Regions from separate parts of the Homo sapiens genome. Here all the other regions are linked to region 2. The links are contacts of gene promoters, found by promoter capture Hi-C in human tissues and cell types (Jung and others, 2019). All regions are on one chromosome and are shown on one strand. The core of a region is centred on a gene start or on the middle of the fragment in contact, and the rest is flanking DNA. Distances in the headings are between cores, read along the strand shown.

Region 1 (2,700 bases), core at 98-2,597, 1.1 Mb before region 2:
TATCATGACCAATAGGGTTTATCTAAGGAATGCCAGATTAGCTAAAAAATCCATCCATGAAATCCAACAAAATAAAGTAGATAAACCACACAATCACATCAATAGATGTAGAACAAGCATTTGACAATATTTGACACCCACTTATGTTAAAAACAAATTTTCTCATCAACCGAGAAATCAAATTTGTTCAATATAATAAATAATATCTATACCAAAACAAAGAAACATAGTAACAAAACCCTACAGCTAATTTCACACTTGATGATAAAAAACGGAAGGTCTTCCCTCTTAAAATGGGGAACAAGATAAGGATGTCCGCTGTCATCACGTCTATTCAACATTGTACTGGTTGTTCTATTCTATTCAATAAGATATGGGGAAAAAAAGAGAGTCTTTGGGAAGGAAGAAATAAACTATCTCTATTTGTAAATAATATGATAGTTTATGTTGAAATTCTTATGGAATCTTAAAGAAAACTAGAAATAAATATAGCAAGGCCTCTGGACGCAGAGTCAGGACAAACAGATCAGAGTCTGGATACAGACCCCAGGTATAATTAATTAACCTAAATTTCATCAAAATTCAAAAAAATCCTCACCAAAAGGCACTATTTAGAATATGAATGTACAAGCCACCAACTGGGAGAAACCTTTATTTATATATCTACCTGACTTGACAAAGGACTAAACTGAAGATGAAAGATCTCTTGCAACTAAACAATAAAAACAAACCCCCCAGATGCATAAAAGGTTAAAACCCATGATTCACAAGGGAAGATATATAAGTGGCCAATAAGCACATAAAAATATACTAAAAACCGTTCATCATTAGGAAAATTCAAATTTAAATCATAATCAGATACCAGAAAACACTCATTACCAAGTGGCCAAAACTAAAAAGACCACTGACATTACATGCTGTTGAAGATGTGGAGCCACTAAAACTCTCTCATACATTGCTGGTGAGAATTGCCGGTCCTCCCACTTTGGCAAAAGATTTGATTGTTTCTTATAAAGCTTAATATATACTTACCATTTATTCCAGCAATTTTACTTTTAGGTATTTACCCAAGAGAAGTGAAAAGATATTATCATAAAAAAGAACAATAGAAAAAACATTTATAGCCTTATTCTTAGTATCCCCAAATTAGAAATTACCTCCAAGTTCATAAACAGGATAATGAATTTTAAAAGTATATTAAATTGATTTTAAAAGTATAATATTCAGCAATAAAATGGAATGAATTATTGAAACATGCAACAACATGGATGAATCTCATACACATTATGCTGAACGAAATAAGCCAGACTCAAACAAGAACATATTTTTTTGTTCCACAGTATGTTCATACTGCATGTTCTACAGAACTATATGAAGTTCTAGAACAAATCAAACTCCTATGGTTAAGTCACTCTGCAGGGCTGAGTGACTTTTGAACCTTCCCAGGGAGAGAGGAGACACAGGAAAATCCCACAGCTAACCCGTGATTGGTCAGGAGAACCCAGGGATCTCAAGTTCAAGTCTCACCTAAAAAAGTTTACTGCATAGGTATATTAATTAGGAAAAACCATGAAGGAATACTCAGGGATGATTAGAAATGTTCTATATCTTTATAATGGTGTGTGTTACACAGATTTATACATTTGTCAAAATTTATCAAATTGTTCACTTAAGATTTGTGCATTTCAATGTATATAAATATTATCTAAAAACCTATAAACTAATGAACGAAAAATGCTAAAGATCTATGTTATTCTGAATAACTCTCAAAGATTTAATCTTCACAGGCTGTAGTATCCTTGGTAATAGACTGACCTGCTAAGATGATTCCCACAGAACCTCTGAGCCACATTAATTTAAGAAAGGGAAAAATGGTTGGAAAACCTTTAATCTATATAAAAGAACATTTTTTTGAGGTGGCCCAGCTGCTTGTATTTAGCGAGTTGAGTGGGCAAGAGTAGTTTCAAGAAAACCTATTCCTCAGCATAAACATATATTTCCTTCCTGGAATATGATGGTGAAGAAAGGACTTGCCAATTCCAGTATAAGCTTAGAATGGTGGCAGAAAATTATGATAATTTTGCAGTTTCAATGGAAAAGCATTCTTATACTACAAAAGTGAATTTTTGCTATAGGTTAAGTTTTCTTGCTATCCTCCACTTCCTTTTACAGAAGAAAAGTGGATACTTGAGCAATTAGCCCAAATGGAGTAAGGAAGAATTTCTCATTTCTCTAAAGTCAATTAGGGATTTTCTGTTTCTGTAAAGGATGAGGACTACATGTCCATTTCTCAGAAAGATAGAGGGATGATCACTGAGGATGGATATGGTTAGGAATTCAACAATAATGAAGTGCAAAAATGCCATGTACTTTCCATAGCCAAATAAAACAGTGATATTTAGACTTTAATTCTTTGTAATTTGGTGTTGTGTACAGTATGGCTAACTTTAATATATAACTAATGGTTTTTAGCTCCACTTCATCTTCAGCCTACATCTATAGTCCTTCTTCAATCCTCCTCATCTTTAGCCAAACATTTTTTTTTGGCACTCTGCTCCATGTTTTGGGTAGATATATTTCTTTGAATTTTCCTCAATAGTCAGAAGACTGCATTTATGAAGTGACCCCAAAAGCTTGTGGATAACAAATTGGAAAAGTAAGCATTTAGTCAGAGACAATGAATTCCACTTTGGTCCTGTA
Region 2 (2,700 bases), core at 62-2,561:
AGCTTTATTGGGTAAATGAATGAATGATGAACCCAAATAAAGATTATTTTGGAGAACTCAGATGTAGACATGGAAAATTTCTTTGCTTTACAAGAGCTCACAAAGATAATTATATTCTATTCGCCTAACACATAGGGGAGCAGAAGTAATGAGCTTTCTTAAATGCTATTTCTCTGTAACACATTGCTGATGTCCTACATTTTACCATCATACACATCTTTTCAGGTAGTCTGTATTTCTATATGAAACATGGAACCCAAACAAATTGTTGCTATGAAGTGATCAGGGTGTAATATATCTTGAAATGGAAGGAAAGCTAGTATAATTCTAATTGTATAGATTTTAATAACTACATAGAGGTTTAATGTTATAATATAGTATATGTATCTTGAAGATCAAAATGTTTTAAGGATTAGTTTAAATATATAATTTTTCAAATTTGTCTTATCACTTCATTTTGTCCATTGTTGCAGAACTCAAGAGTTGTTGCAAATAAATAAATTTTTATAACCTGCATCTTAATAAATCATGCAAAATAGTTGACATTCAGTCATTATACAATTAACATGGACCCAATGAACCTGGTTCTATGAACAATGTCTAGACACAGTAAATGTTTAATGAAATTTGGTTGTTAGAAATTTATATCAGAAAAAAGTATCTATATGGGTTAACTTTAGCAATCATTCTATTCCTTTCGCTTGATCTCTGATGGATTAGAAGTCTATTAAATATCTCTACATTTTGCTTGACACAAGTGCATTGTAATTACAGCCATCAGGCCATCCTTAGCCATTTATTATTTTCATTTACTAAAACAGTCTCTACGATGATGACACCCTGTGGGATTAGGAATCTAATGGAAACAAAAATCTTGAAAAAGTGAAGATTGCAGGGTAAGACCCCTCATCAGAACAGTATCTTAAGAATGAAAAGGTAAGCTAGTGTAGGAAAAGTGAATCCTCAGGGACGCTAAGGAGGGAGCCTTCCTCCCAGCAGTGTTGCCATACCTAGCACCAGCTTTCTTTCATCTTGCTTTTATATCCCCCACTGCATCATCATAGTTATCTAGAGACCTCACCAGGCAGGCTGACGGTCATGTGTGGGTTGCCTAATTACAGGAACCTGAGATTTGACCACTTGGCAGCCAATTTTCTCTTTATGTAGAAAGATCTAATTGTTTATGTAATCATCACCATCATTAATACCTCAGAGATGACCTCATCCAGAAATGCTGGGAACTGGTGGAGTAGGACATGGGCGGAGTCAGTGTGTTCCTTTAAATACCTGTGGTCCCGGTGCAGCCTCCCGTGTCTGAAAGCATTTCTGGAGTGTTTTAGGCCTGTTCACTTTCTCTTACTCACTGTCTATTCACTTGTCCTGTTCACTCGTCTGGAAGATCTCAGCCAGCACCATGACTGACAATGAGCTGTCTGCCTTGGTAGTGGATAATGGGTCAGGGATGTGCAAGGCAGGCTTTGGTGGTGACGATGCCCCCCGGGCTGTGTTCCCCTCCATGATAGGGCGTCCTCGACACCAGGGCGTTATGGTAGGCATGGGCCAGAAGGACTGCTACGTGGGAGATGAGGCTCAGAGCAAGAGAGGCGTCCTGACCCTGAAGTATCCTATCGAGCATGGAGTGGTCACCAACTGGGACGATATGGAAAAGATCTGGTACCACACATTCTACAATGAGCTCCGTGTGGCACCAGATGAGCATCCCATCCTCCTCACCGAGGCACCCCTGAACCCCAAGATCAACCGGGAAAAGATGACTCAGATCATGTTCGAGGCTTTCAACACACCAGCCATGTATGTCGCCATCCAGGCTGTGCTGTCCCTCTATGCCTCAGGACGGACCACAGGCATCGTGATGGATTCTGGGGATGGGGTCACTCACATCGTGCCCATCTATGAAGGTTATGCCCTGCCTCATGCCATTCTACGCCTGGATCTGGCAGGGAGAGACCTGACTGATTACCTCATGAAGATCCTGACAGAGCGAGGCTATAACTTCACCACCACTGCTGAGCGGGAGATTGTGCGAGATGTCAAAGAGAAGCTGTGCTACGTAGCCCTGGACTTTGAGCAGGAGATGGTCAGGGCAGCCGCATCCTCCTCACCGGAACGGAGCTATGAACTTCCTGATGGGCAGGTGATCACCATTGGGAATGAACGCTTCCGATGCCCTGAAGCCATTTTCCAGCCTTCCTTTCTGGGCATTGAGTCCAGTGGGATCCATGAGACAACCTTCAACTCTATCATGAAGTGCGATGTGGATATTCGCAAGGATCTCTATGCCAACACCGTGTTATCTGGAGGGAGCACCATGTACCCAGGCATTGCTGACAGGATGCAGAAAGAAATCATAACCCTGGCACCCAGCACCATGAAAATCAAGATCATAGCTCCCCCAGAGCGGAAGTATTCTGTTTGGATTGGGGGCTCCATCCTTGCCAGCCTGTCCACATTCCAGCAGATGTGGATCAGTAAGCAGGAATATGATGAGGCTGGTCCTCCTATCGTTCACAGAAAATGTTTCTGAATGGGCTTCCATATTAGTGGGCTTACATTTTCCCTTTTCCTAGGTCACAGTGATGGTACTGCTTTTATCCGCTTTCAGTAGAATCGAGGTAAATACGTCACTCTTCCTAGTGTAAACCAGCAAACCCATCTCTCCATCCAAGTAACCTGGGCTCT
Region 3 (2,975 bases), core at 71-2,570, 1.3 Mb before region 2:
TTATGTGGGTTGAGCTCTCACTAAATTAACTCCTAGCAAAGGGAGGATGGAATAAGGTTAGGAAAACACATTCAGACCTGCCAGTACTATATTAATGACAAAAATATATCCAAAGCAAAAAGGAAGAGTTATGAAAATGCAGTGTTACAGATCTGCATTCCACATCTCTCGGAAATCAAAAGGGGTTACATGGTAGTCTCCTACCAGGAAAGAATAGAAGCAATTAAAAAAAAAATAACATTATGGGACATAGTACAATCAAAGGCTGTGAAAATGAAAAGCCTTCATATTTTAAATCTGAAAGGTAAATGTGGTCCTAGATCCTGGCTCTTGAGAAATTATTCTTATCCTATCTTTTTTTCAGGTGGCAAAGGCTGTTAAGTGCTTTCTGGGTATAAAGCTAATATTCCTACTGAAGTGCTGACTGATTCATACCTTTGCATGACTTATGTTCCAACAATTCTGTAGAATTCTCAAATACAGTGTACTTTAGAAATGCAAAGTTTTAACACTATTATCATTGAAATTATTTCTGAGCAGAAAAAAATGCTTAATTTTCATGTTTCGGCTGATTTAGAAAAAAGTAACTCATTAGCAGTCACTAAAAAGGAATCCTGTGCATTATGTTTAAGTATAGGAATAAATATTTAACATTTACTGTCAAAGATGAGTAATTATATATATAATGGTGGGCATAATGAGTATTCACATTTGGAGATACTACTTAAATACTGTGTACAAGGTGTTAAAGCATGCGGTGAGAAATTCTGGAGGACAACCTAAGAGAAAAGATTTGGTTTAAGGCTCTTAGAGGAAGTAGGGGGGCATGTAGATTTTTGACGGGAGTTTAAGGCATCATACCATGTCATGTAACACACAAGCATGTAGAGAGAGAAAGCTCACTTATGTCAAGGATGCTTTCTCTTCCAAGCCTCGCCTGCTTAACCTGTTGAAGTCTGAACCTGTGGTATACCAGTAGACAAGTGCCAATGTATTCCGCTTCCCATTCATTCATTCATTCTTTCTCTCTCCAAAGCTTTATTGACCTTACATCTTTTAGTCATGGGGATAAGGGGTAAAAGAGGATGCAAATACACGTAAAACACAGTTTTACTCAGAGGACTTTCAGGCTGGAGCAGTTGATAAGATATGCACTCAAAAGATAGTGAAAAGTATTACAAAAATTTTTAAAAAGTAAAATGTGGTAGAGATTCGGTAGAAGGGAGAATCAAAAAAAAATTTATGTAGAATATAAAATCTAAGCTTGACCTTGAAAAATGAGTAAAATGAGACATACAGAGATGAAAGTCAGGGACTGGGGTAGTGGAGAGGGAGGAGGAAGTTGGAAGAGTACATTCTGGTTTGGTTCAGGGTGGGATGGAGAACTAGAGTGAAGCCCAGTGGCCCAGATAAAGAGAGAGAAGAGATACAGTGTAGGTTGAGTCCAGATTATAGGGAGCTCTACATGCTAAGGGTTTAAACCTAATTGTATAGGTACCAGGGAGCCACTGGTAGATTCTGCGCAGGCTGATGATGTGAAACATGAACAAAAGAGTAATCTAAGAAGATTAACATAGAGTTTCCATCCCAACCCTACTTTTTTTTTTCAACTAAGAATTAAGCCTTAATGCTTTCAAAGTATATATTTTACATAATAAATTAACTTGTTCCCTGTGCATCTAGAATGGTGCTACTGTAGTTAGGAACCATGCTTAGGAGAACTAAGAAAATAGTTACTTAAGTCATATTCAGATGAAGAACTCTGGTTAAGAAAGGAAATGCTCAGAAATACAGAAGCCAAATTAGAAGACTTTTACAAGTTTTAATAAAAGAAACTAAAGTAATAGTAGGGAAATACATATACAAGTATTAATTTTAACCAATCATATCTACCTAGCAGCAGATCATTCTCTCACCCAAAGGTTATATGCAAACATGAAATCCTAGAGGGCCATACTGTGTGGAGTCAGGTGGGACACTGATGAGCATCTATGAGTATTTTTGCTGGAGGTCTTAACTTTTTTTTTATTTGACTGATTTCCCATTTATTCATTCATTTTTAGAGGGGTTTCTTCTTGCCTTGAGAAATGATGCAGTTCTAGTTACTATTCAGAGATAGGGCTAGAGTCTAATTCAGGAAAAACAAAACACATATGGAATCCTAGACAGAAGCAAAGAGGATCTGAATGAAATTATAGCTGGTACATAGTTACAGACTACAAGATAGGTAATTAATAATAAAATACTAAATATATCATAGTAGTCACAAGTTCTTTACAATGGAGAAAGAAATTGTGACTACTATGATATATTTAATATTTTTTATTAGCCCCATCATTAAGGAAGAAGCCATACTTCCTTCAAAGGAGGGTTTGAAAACCTCCACCTAAGATCTCAGGATATTCCAGAACACTGATTATGCCAGCAACAAGTTGGCCACAAAGGGTCGTGAAACAGACATAGGCTCACCCTGTCTAGGGAGACAGAGTGGCAGCATCACACAGCCACAGTCTGAATTTTGCTGAATGCATTGTAAGCACTCAGTTCATAAGGTAATACCTGGAGCCAGTGCATAAGCAAATGACAAAACTTAGGTACTAAGGTCCCTGGAGTAAGAAACAAGATATCTAGACTTAGATGATTTGGGGACAAAGACTGCATGTAAGTTAGAAAGAAGGATCCAGACCAATATTTTTCTTTAGAAAGGAGAACCAGAAGAGATATTGGTAACCAAGGAGTGCTTTTAATAATTTGTTATACTTAAATACATAAACTATTAAGCCCCGGGCCACTCCTATTATCTTTCAGCGTTGCGAGGCACAATGCTTTGATTTTCAGGAAACCAAATTTAGAAGCTTTGTAAAAATTATTCACTCTAAAAATTCATTCTCCCTCCAGGAGAGGGGATGTCTCATTTAATTGGAGCTCATACTTCCACTTCTGCAGTCTCATCTTTTTGGAGTCTACAGGCCTTA

Evidence for each region. Contacts are between HindIII fragments. The study calls those that stand out against the background at their distance.
Region 1: a fragment that was not itself captured here is called in contact with the fragment with the promoter of ACTBL2 in region 2 in 1 of the 25 tissues and cell types used here (dorsolateral prefrontal cortex).
Region 3: a fragment that was not itself captured here is called in contact with the fragment with the promoter of ACTBL2 in region 2 in 1 of the 25 tissues and cell types used here (dorsolateral prefrontal cortex).

What each region holds. Positions count from the first base shown.
Region 1 is chr5:58,586,579-58,589,278 of GRCh38, reverse strand. All of the region lies in intron 1 of RAB3C (RAB3C, member RAS oncogene family), which reads right to left. Among named protein-coding and RNA genes, the nearest start is that of RAB3C, 4.9 kb to the right of the region's middle. The HindIII fragment of the contact is 3,938 bases long and covers 1-2,700 here.
Region 2 is chr5:57,481,422-57,484,121 of GRCh38, reverse strand. ACTBL2 (actin beta like 2) reads left to right here and starts at 1,311. Exons shown (of 1, transcript NM_001017992.4): 1 at 1,311-2,700. The coding sequence starts at 1,415. The coding sequence ends at 2,545. The region is part of intron 1 of RMEL3 (enriched in melanoma 3); the gene reads right to left. The HindIII fragment of the contact is 3,416 bases long and covers 1-2,700 here.
Region 3 is chr5:58,780,199-58,783,173 of GRCh38, reverse strand. All of the region lies in intron 3 of RAB3C (RAB3C, member RAS oncogene family), which reads right to left. Among named protein-coding and RNA genes, the nearest start is that of RAB3C, 200 kb to the right of the region's middle. The HindIII fragment of the contact is 3,377 bases long and covers 1-2,975 here.